Linked DNA regions of Homo sapiens: region 2 is linked to region 1. The links are contacts of gene promoters, found by promoter capture Hi-C in human tissues and cell types (Jung and others, 2019). All regions are on one chromosome and are shown on one strand. Each heading gives the region's core, a stretch centred on a gene start or on the middle of the fragment in contact. The rest is flanking DNA. Distances are from core to core; before and after follow the strand shown. Region 1 holds the start of PDGFA (platelet derived growth factor subunit A). Region 2 overlaps LOC124901567 (a long non-coding RNA gene).

Region 1 (5,101 bases), core at 1,933-4,432:
CACCCGTGGTCCACCGGGGTCCCCCGGGGTGAGAGGCCCCTTTAACCCTTGCCAACCCGCAGCAAAACTCTGTGCTTGCAAACAAGCTGTGTTCTCTAGTGGCCCGGCCCCAGGGCCCGAGGGTGAGCCGCAAAAATAGCCCCCAGGCAGCAGATGCGTCCAAGGCTTTTCATTGGGTCGTGAAAACAGAAAGACACCGGCTTCTGCAGCCACAGAGGCCCAGCCCTGCGGCAAGAACGCGGCACCAGCTCGCAGGGATTACAGAGGGGGCCGGGCCCTGACCCGGGGGCCGCCTCCGCCCGCCCGCCCGTCGGACCGGGAGCCGCGCCTGCCCTTGGGGCCTCGCTCCGCGGGCTGCCCGCCCGGCGCACGGGCCAGGGCTCTGCGCCCAGGGTCTGGGCCGGATCCTGCCGCTCCCCCGGCCCGAGGGCAGGCGCGGGGCCCGCACACCTGGCGGAGGCCGCGGCTGAACTTTGTGTGACACACGCGGCGTTTTCCTTAAAGGCGAAAACAATCCCGGGGCGAGCGAGCAGCCCTCGGCCGCCGCTGGGAGAGAAAGTGGAGACTGGAAGAGAAACTCCTGACTCATCCGCCCGGGCGCTTATGGCTGGGGATTGGATTCTGACCTTTCGGTGCGCTCCTGCGCGGCGCCCCGCCCGGCCCCAGCTCGGGGCGCACAGGCCGCCCGCCCGCGCCCTCCCCGCGCGCGGAGGGAAGGGGCGCGATTTACCTACGGAGTCTATCTCCAGGAGTCGCTGGAGGTCCCGGATGCTGTGGATCTGACTGCGGGCCAGCCTCTCGATCACCTCGCGGGGGATCTCGGCTTCCTGCAAGCAGAGGCCACACGGTCAGCGCCCGCGGCCCCGACCCCGCCGGCACGCGCCCCCGGCCGCCAGGAGCGCCGCCGCCCCGGGCCCGAGGAGACCCCGCGAGCGCCGGCCGCAGTCCCCGCCCCAGCCCCCGCGGAGCCCTCGCCCCGGCCCTGGAACCAGAAGCCGGGGGTGGGGCTGGAAGAGACCCCAAATTCTCCACCCGCATCCATGTTCCGCCCTTTGCAAAATCAAAGCCCCCCCCCCTTTATATTTTCAGACAAAAGCCCCCGCACTCCGGCCCCTCCACCCGGGGTGTCAGTTACAGAAGGTCTAGGGGGCAGCGAGGGGGCCGAAAGTTTCTGATTTAATAGTGAGATCAACATCTAGAAAGATCAAGTTAAAATGCGTCACGGGTCGGCGAGAGTCACGGCAGCCCTAACACTTTAATCCAGGCAGGGCTTAAATTTCACGCCCCGGAATCCCGGGCCGAACCCGTGGAGAGGTCTCTCCGTCTCACAAACACACGCACGCGCGCGCAGACACACACACGCGCACACACATCTCACTCACACACTCGCCCCACCCCGGGCTCCGGCCCAGCCGCGGCCCTAGCGCCGACTAAGACGCCCAAATCCAGCCGGCGGCCGGGAGAAGAAGCCTCCAGGGAAAGCGAGGGTTAAACTTCCACCTCGCGCAGCTCTCCGTGCCCTGCGGAGACCACCCTCACCTCTGGCCTCCCCCACTCCCCTCCCCGATTTTTAAGGAGAGTCGGGGGTCGCTGGGGAGCCTGAAGCACTAAGTTCCCACGACGGGGGCTGTGGAAAGTCATTCATCACAGCAAAGCTCCCGGGGATGGGGATGGGGATGGGGATGGGGGGGCGGGGACGCCGCGGTGGGAGGGTGCGGACGCCTGGCCCAGCCCCAGCTCGCCTCGCTCAGCCACCTGTAAGCAGGCCCGGGCGGGCGGGACTGCGCCGGCCCTGAGCCCCGCCGGGCTTGGGGACTGGGAACCGAGGGCTGCAGCTTGGCGCTGCCCACCCTGCCCGGCCAGGGGCTTCCGCAGCAGCCGCCCCTACCTATTTATCCGCCGCCCTTCTCTCCTCCCCAGGCTCCGCCGGCTCACACACACCCCCTTCCCCGCTCCCCGCACCCCGCTGCTGCAGCGCCCGCTGCGCCCCAGCTCCCCTTCCCCGGAGAGGACACTGCGCCCCCCGAAGTTTCTGCCCACTCGTCCACCTCGCTGCTCCCCGGTCCCCCCGAGGCAGAGCGACCGACGCAACACGCTGGAAACTCCCCACACACACTTAGGCATGGCAGAAAATAGAACCCAGTTGGGAAAATCTAAACATCGACCACCCTGGCAGGAACCAAAACGCTCTCTGCAGAGCCCGTGGCGCCCCAGCCGGCGGGGGGTGTGCGCCGGAGGAGCCGGCGCAGGGACGGGGCGCGGGGGCGGCACCAACCTCGGCCAGAACATGGGCGAGGTATCCGCAGCCGAGGAGCAGCAGGCAAGCCAAGGTCCTCATCGCGTCCCGAGGCGCTGGCTGCTCGGAGGAGAGGCGAGGCCGCGGGGCGGGCGCTCCAGCCGGTCTCCTGTGGCGGCGAAATTCAGTACCATCCCTTAGGGAGCGCGGCCCGGAGGAGGGTGGCGCGGGGAGCACGGAGCTGGCGGAGCGCGCCCGGCGCGAGCAGTGAGTGCGGAGAGGCAGGCAGCGCCAGCCAGGAGGAGGAGAAACAGGGAGTGCGCGCCCGCAGCGCGGGGAGCCTCCTGGGCCGCCGGGTAGGGGGTGGGGACGGAAGGGGCGGAGGGCGGGGGCTGGGCTTCTTCCTCGGTGCGTTCCCGGTGCTGGCCGCCGCCGCGCTCGCTCCCCGCGCTGGCTTCAGGAGCGACCCGGCCGGTAATTCTGCATATTTGCGGACATCAGCCCCAAGAAGAACTCCGGAGGGAGTCTGGGGCCGCCGCCGCCGCCGCCGCCACACCGATCACCTGCCTGGACGCCTGGCCCGGCCCCGGCTGCGAGCTGCGAGCCGCCCTGCGCGCCCACCGCCGGCCCCGCGCTCGCCTCCGGCCTCCTCTTGCAGCCGCCGCCCGGCCGGGCACAGCGCGGCCCAGCACCCCCTCCGCGGCGCGCCCTCGGCTCCGGCGCCGCGCTCCGCCCTCCGCTCGCCGGGGCCGGGCAGCGCCCGCGGCCGAGCCGCCTGGCAGCCACCACCCGCCGCCCGGGGCCTCGCTGCGCCGCCCGCGCGGGCCTGAGGGCGGGCGCAAGGCCGAGTCGGCGCCTCCGCCGCAGCCGCCGCCGGGAGAGGAGGAGGAGGAGTAGGCGCAGGCCCGGCTCGCCGGAGTTGGGCGGGCTCCGCAGGGCGCGCGTGTGGAGCCGGCCGGCGGCGGGGAGAGGGTTATAGCGCCGCCGCCGCGCCCCTCCCCCGCCCCCGCCCCCGCCCCCCCCCCCCGCCTCCCCCGGATTCCGGGCCTGGGACCCGCACCTCGGAAGCGCTCGGGGTTCGTGCGGACCCGGCAGGGCCCGGGCGCCGCCGCCGCGGCAGGGAGCACACACGCGCTCGCGCAAGCAGCTAAATCCATCAAAGCCCCGCGCCCGGCTCCGCGCCGGGGCTCCGCGCCCCTCCCTCGAGCTTGCCCACCCTCCAGTGCCAGCTGCAATCCTGCGGCACCGGGTGGGGAGGGAGGAGGCCGCCGCAGAAGCGCCGCCGTCGCCGGCTCGCCTCTCTCGGGCCCCAGCGGCGGCAGCGGGCAGCGCCCAGAGCTGCTGCGCCAAAAAGGGCCAGAGAGCCGGTCCCCGCCCCCGCCCCGGCGCTCCGGCCGCTCTCCACGGTTCGGATCCAGGGCCCCAGCCTTCCTCTCTCCATAAAAGGAGGGGGAGTCAGTCTTTGGGGAAGGAGGGGGGCGGGTTTGGGGCACTCACCTGGCGGCTGCCACGCGCCCCCGCCCAGGATCCGAGGCCTGGGGCATCTGAATGAGGACCCTCCACCCACATTTCCACTTGGGAGCGAGCTCCAGTCGGGGAAAGGGCCTGCAGCCCGCCTCGTCCCCACCCTGGGACCCCGCGCCCCCCAGTCCCCCACTCCCGCGCCGAAGGCAGGGCCGCGCCCTGAGCCGGGAAGTCGAGGGGATGGAAGGGAAAGGAGCCACCGGTGAGGGTCCCCCGGGTTCTGAGCCTCCCGCGTCGGGATCCGTGGGGCGCACAGAGCGCCACCTCCGGCCGAGGCGCAGCTCAGAGCGCGATGCGGGGGAGGAACGCGCGCGGAGGCCGAGGTCTGAGCGTGGCTAGACGGCTCCCACGCCGAGAAAGGGCGGGTGCGCCTGGGCTGGATGGATTTCGCCTCCCTAGACCAGGAGGGATTGGACCCTGACTACAGGTCCAGGTGCTCGTCAGTGCCCTGCCAGGGGGTCTACGCGTCCTGGTACCGGGTCCAGCGGGGTGGCGTGCTGTGCAGACCCCGAGGCTAGACGGCCTAGGCCCCTGGAGCCCAGGAGACGCTTCCTTGGGTGAGCAGCGGAGAATCCCGCCCGGCCCAGCCGTCACCCCCAACCCTGTCGATTAAACCCCTGCCCCCGTCGCGGTCGCCCTCCCTCCAGACAAAGGCCGTTAAGGCGCAGCCCCGCGGGCGGTCTTTCATCCCCAGCTAGGCCAGCTCTAGCATTTCAAAGGCCGAATCCGGAGAGCGCTTCGGGGGCTCTCCCCTTCCCCCAAATATTTGGGGAGCGACGCCTCTCCCTCCGCTCCCAGTGGGTCGCGTCTACACGCGCCCTTCCACACACCTGCAGGCCCCCTCCCCACGTCTCTCCCTTCCGTTGGCCGCAGCCCCACACCACGACCCCCGCGGTCAAGCATGCCCTCTGGGTGGTCAGGACCAAGCGGGACCGGGACAGAACCAGGGGAGCCTTGGAAACGTGGAGGAGCCCCTTAAAGCCAGGCCTTGTCCCTCCAGGGGGAACTTGCGGCTTGGGAGGGGACACCCACTGCATGGCTTCTGGAAAGAGCCGGACTCGCAGGGCCAGGACGCAGGCCGGACCCCGGCCTCATTCTTCGGCCAGTTATCCCGGAGTGGCGCGCATCCTGTCTTCCTGGGCCTCGGACTGCTCGCGCGCAGAGGGGGCCCGAGGACACCTCTGTGGGGTTAGAGGACTCGGTAAGACGGTGTGGAAGGCAAGGAGGAAGGTCGCGTTGTATTGGGGATGGGGTACCCGTCCCTCCCAGCTTGAGGGATCCTGGGGGTCCTCGCCGCCTCTGAGGGCCTAGATGGCTGCTTCCCTCGGCTCCCCTGCCCGG
Region 2 (5,101 bases), core at 1,081-3,580, 280 kb after region 1:
CCCCCAGTCACGTTTCCCACGCTTGCTTGATGTATCACGACTCTTTCACGTGGACCCCTTAAAGTTGTAACCCTTTAAAAAGGCCAAGAATTTCTTTTTCGAGGAGCTCAGCTCTTAAAACGCAAGTCTGCCGACGCTCCCGGCCGAATAAAAACCTCTTCCTTCTTGAATCCAGTGTCTGAAAAGTTTTGTCTGCGGCTCATCCTGCTGCAGTATGACAGTGAACCACCTGGACAGGCGAGGGCGTCCCGTCAGAAGACCAGTGAGAATGCAGCCAGCACAGGGCCGCGGGGTTCCTCCATCTGCCTGCGGCCCAGGAAACCTTCCAGCCCAGATTCTTTCCCTCCCGGGGCAGGGCTGGGAGCACGGCCCCGTGTTCACCACCCATGGATCCCGCCCCTCCAGGGATGTGCTCACATAACAGCCACTTTGTGCCCGTCCAGACTGGAAGACTTGCCGTCACTGACAGGTGCTCCAGGCTAGCAGCCTCTGCATGTCTGAATGTTTATTTACAGTATGCGATGGCCAGGCACAGTGGCTCATGCCTGTAATCCTAGCACTTTGGGAGGCCGAGGTGGGCAGATTGCCTGAGCTCAGGGGTTTGAGACCAGCCTGGGCAACACGATGCAGCTCCATCTCTACTAAAATACAACAAATTAGCCAGGTATGGTGGCGTGCACCTGTAGTCACAGCTACTTGGGAGGCTGAGGCAGGAGAATTGCTTGCACTCGGAAGGAGGAGGTTGCAGTGAGCTGAGATCACGCCACTGCACTCCAGCTTCGGCGACAGAGCGAGACTCTGTCTTAAAAAAATAAAATTAAAATAAATAAATAAAAGAATGGAACAAAGGGGCCATGTGCAGGGGCTCATGCCTGTAATCCGAGCATTTTGAGAGGCTGAGGCAGGCAGATCATTTGAGGTCAGGAGTTTGAGACCAGCCTGGCCAACATGGTGAAACCCTGTCTCTAGTAAATATAGCCAGATGCAGTGGCTCACGTTGTAATCCTAGCACTTTGGGAGGCTGAGATGGGTGGATCACTTGAGGTCAGGAGTTCGAAACCAGCCTGGCCAACATGGTGAAACCCCATCTCTACTAAAAATATAAAAAAATGAGCTGCTCGTGGTGGTGCGCACCTGTAATCCCAGCTACTTGGGAGGCTGAGGCAGGAGAGTCGCTTGAACCAGGGAGGCGGAGGTTGCAGAGAGCTGAGATGGTGCCACTGCACTCCAGCCTGGGCGACAGAGCGAGACTCCATCTCCAAAAAAAATTAAATAAATAAATAAATAATTTGTTAATAGCTCATTCATCCCACCAGGGAAGAGATGGCTTCCAACAAGAAGACAAGCACTAACAGACAAAATCGGGACCCAGAAGCAAGCAGGCTTGTGGATAGAGCACAGGCCCCGCTGAGGTCCGGCACCTTGAAGGAGGTGGAGCACCAGCTCCCAGGGGCCTCTGCTCCTGACCACACCAAGACCGTCGTTTACAGCAGGGGTCCCCAACCCCCGGGCCACAGAATGTGGCCTGTTAGGAACCAGGCCACATAGCCAGAGGTGAGCAGCGGGCCAGCCAGTAAAGCTTCATTTGTATTTACAGCCGCTCCCATCGCTGACGTTACCGCCTGAGCTCCACTTTGTCAGATCAGCATCAGCATTCAGTTCTCACAGAAGCATGAACCCCATTGTGAACTGTGCATGAGAGGGATTAGGTTTCACACTCCTTATGAGAATCTAATGCCTGATGATCTGTCATTGTCTCCCATCACCCACAGATGGGACCATCTAGTTGCAGGAAAACAAGCTCAGGGCTCCGACTGACTTTACATTTTCAAAGTTGTAGAATTATTTTATTATTGGCCAGGTACAGTGGCTCATGCCTGTAATCCCAGCATTTAGTAGAGACAGGGTTTTGCCATGTTGTCCAGGCTGATCTCGAACTTCTAACCTCAAGTGATCCTCCCGCCTTGGCCTCCCAAAGTGCTGGAGTTACAGGCATGAGCCACCACGGCTGGCCATATATTTTAAATTCTTTATTGAAATAACTTTAGGGCTGGGCGTGGTGGCTCACACCTGTAATCCCAGCACTTTGGGAGGCTGAGGCGGGCGGATCATGAGGTCAGGATATCGAGACCATCCTGGCCAACATGGTGAAATCCCGTGTCTACTAAAATACAAAAAATTAGCCAGGCGTGGTGGCATGTGCCTGCAGTCCCAGCTACTTGGCAGGCTGAGGCAGGGGAATCACTTGAACCCAGGAGGTGGAGATTGCAGTGAGCCGAGATTGCGCCACCGCACTCCAGCCTGGTGACATAGCAAGACTCCGTCTCCAAAAAAAAAAAAAAACAGAAAAAGGAAGGAAGGAAGAAAGACAGAAAGAAACTTTACACTTCTTAACAGAAAAATTGCAAAAATAGTACAGTTCCCATATATACACTTTGCTCAGGTTCTCCTGGTGTTAACATTTTACATGACTGTGGGACAGATATGAAAAGCAGGCATTGGCTGGGCATGGTGGCATGTGCCTGTAATACCAGCACTTTGGGGGACTGAGGCAGGACGCTCACTTGAGGCCAAGAATTTTTCTTTTCTTTTTTTTTTTTTTTTTTTTTTGAGATGGAGTCTCGCTCTGTCGCCCAGGCTGGAGTGCAGTGGTGCGATCTCCACTCACTGCAAGCTCCACCTCCCAAGGTTCACACCATTCTCCTGCCTCAGCCTCCCAAGTAGCTGGGACTACAGGAGCCCGCCACTACGCCCAGCTAATTTTTTTTTTTATTTTTAATGGAGATGGGGTTTCACCGTGTGTTGGCCAGGATGGTCTCGATCTCCTGACCTCGTGATCCTCCCGCCTTGGCCGCCCAAAGTGCTGGGATTACAGGCATGAGCCACCATGCCCGGCAAGGCCAGGAATTTCAAGACCACTCTGGGTAACAAAGCAAGACTGTCTCTACAAAAAGTTAAAAAATGAGCTGGGCATGGTGGTGCACACCTGTAGTGTTAGCTATTCATGGGGCCAAGGTGGGAGCATCACTTAAGCCCAGAAGTTCGAGACTTCGAGGCTGCAGTGGGTAGCAGAATGAGACTCTGCCTCAAATAATGATAATAATTTACAGGACTTAAACCTCTGTCTCTTGTCCCACCAACTTTGGACAGTATCTTTCCTCTGTTCCCCGGAAGATGAGGGTCCCATCCTTTCCTCTTTCTCTCCCTCCCACCCACCTCCCAACTCATAACAGCTGGACAGTTGCAGTTCCAGAGCCAAGGTTACTATTTATAGTTAGAACAGATGGAAAATATTCACCTTTTTCATGGTTTACATGTAGATTGATGCCAAAGACTAAAAATAAATCCGCAGTATTTTCTGATTATGGCTATATATATTTTGAGACAGAGTCTGGCTCTGTCGCCCAGGCTGGAGGGCAGTGGTGCGATCTCGGCTCACTGCAACCTCCACCTCCCGGGTTCAAGCGATTCTCCTGCCTCAGCCTCCCAAATACCTGGGATTACAGGCATGCACCACCGCACCCAGCTAATTTTGTATTTTTGGTAGAGACGGGGTTTCACCATGTTGGCCAGGCTGGTCTTGAACTCCTGACCTCAGGTGCTCCACCTGCCTTGGCCTCCCAAAGTGCTGGGGTTACAGGCGTGAGCCACCACGCCTGGCCTATTGTAATTATATATTTTGATGAGTTTTTGCAAGTATATATAGTTATGTCATCACAATTACCATCAAGATATAGAACATTTCTGTTACCTCTAAAAGTTTTCTTGAGCCCCTTCGAAGTCAAACCACACCCTCGCTCCCGGCTCTGGCAACCCTGAACTGCCTCTGTCACTGTAGATTAGTTGTCTTTTTTATGTAAGTGGAATCATACAGTATGAAAAAACATTTTTTTTTTTTGAAACAGAGTCTTACTCTGTCGCCCACACTGGAGTGCAGTGGCGCCATCTCCAGTCACTGCAGCCTCCGCCTCCCAGATTCAAGCAATTTTCCTGCCTCAGCCTCCCAAGAAGCTGGGATTACAGGTGCACACCACCACACCTGGCTAATTTTTGTGTTTTTAGTAGAGATGGGGTTTCACCATGTTGGCCAGGCTGGTCTTGAACTCCTGACCTCAGGTGATCTGCCCGCCTCAGCCTCCCAAAGTGCTGGGATTACAGGCGTGAGCCACCGTGCGCGGCCGTTCTCTGCTATTTCTGAATCTCCTTGCTCTCGCTGGAAGGAGTCCTTTTGTCTCCTGGTCTCTGGTCCTTCTCTTCTGGGCTGCTGGTTTTCCTGGTGTCTCCCAGTTACGAATGGAGACCTTGCTTCATCCTCCAGGTAGCTCACCTTCCTCTCCGGCCTCTCTCAGAAACAAAGAGGTTGACGGGAAGCCTCGTGTCCAAGGGGAGGGTTTCCAGGTGTCCAGCCTTGTGAGGCGTGGAAAGGGAAGAGGCATTGGGAACCTCGCCAGATGCCAGACTGAGGAAGGAGTGGCTTGGGGAGCCTGGCCCTCTCGAAAGCCCTCTGGAGCAGTTGCTCCGTGGATCTGGTTCCTTGACTGGGGACGCTGGCCAGCCGCCAGTTGCCCCGTGGCCTCGGTATGGAGGATCATGGGTTCCAGCCGGGAGCTTTGTTTAATCCCCACGGTGCCAGCCCCACCCCCAGACTTGCCACGCGCAGCCTCAGAGGCCGCCTCCACTCAGCTCCGGGGTGCCTATTCTTGTCTGGTGCTTCCGCCTGGCCCCTTCAGACACCCCCCACTCTACTGCTTCCCCACTCCCTGAATTCCCTCCCCCACCCTCCCCACCCACCAGTCAGTGCCGTGAGGCCCCGGGTGGGGAGGAGAGACACTGCCTGGGCCCGGTTCTTCTCCCGGTGAGATCTCAACTTCTGTCTGTGGACAGGCGAGACCTCCACGTGTGCTGTTAGGTAGAAAAAGCAGATTACAGGCTGGACGAAGTGGCTCACGCCTGTGATCCCAACACTGTGGGAGGCTAAGGCGGGAGGGTCGCTTGAGCCTAGGACTTTGAAACCAGCCTGGGCAACACAGTGAGACCCTGTCTAAGACCAGCCTGGCCAACGTGGTGAAACCCCGCCTCTACTAAAAATACAAAAATTAGC

Evidence for each region. Contacts are between HindIII fragments. The study calls those that stand out against the background at their distance.
Region 2: a contact is called between a fragment that was not itself captured here and the fragment with the promoter of PDGFA in region 1, in 3 of the 25 tissues and cell types used here (IMR-90 fibroblasts, dorsolateral prefrontal cortex and pancreas).

What each region holds. Positions count from the first base shown.
Region 1 is chr7:516,664-521,764 of GRCh38, forward strand. It overlaps PDGFA (platelet derived growth factor subunit A), which reads right to left and starts at 3,183. Exons shown (of 6, transcript NM_033023.5): 1 at 2,276-3,183; 2 at 731-827. The coding sequence starts at 2,338. It overlaps PDGFA-DT (PDGFA divergent transcript), which reads left to right and starts at 3,728. Exons shown (of 3, transcript NR_033963.1): 1 at 3,728-5,101. RefSeq lists enhancers at 130-1,052, 1,975-2,896, 4,741-5,101 and silencers at 210-309, 2,153-2,242, 2,703-2,842, 3,123-3,212, 3,313-3,652. The HindIII fragment of the contact is 45,371 bases long and covers 1-5,101 here.
Region 2 is chr7:797,650-802,750 of GRCh38, forward strand. It overlaps LOC124901567 (a long non-coding RNA gene), which reads left to right. Exons shown (of 2, transcript XR_007060175.1): 2 at 1-170. Among named protein-coding and RNA genes, the nearest start is that of SUN1, 32 kb to the right of the region's middle. RefSeq lists an enhancer at 1-440. The HindIII fragment of the contact is 9,331 bases long and covers 1-5,101 here.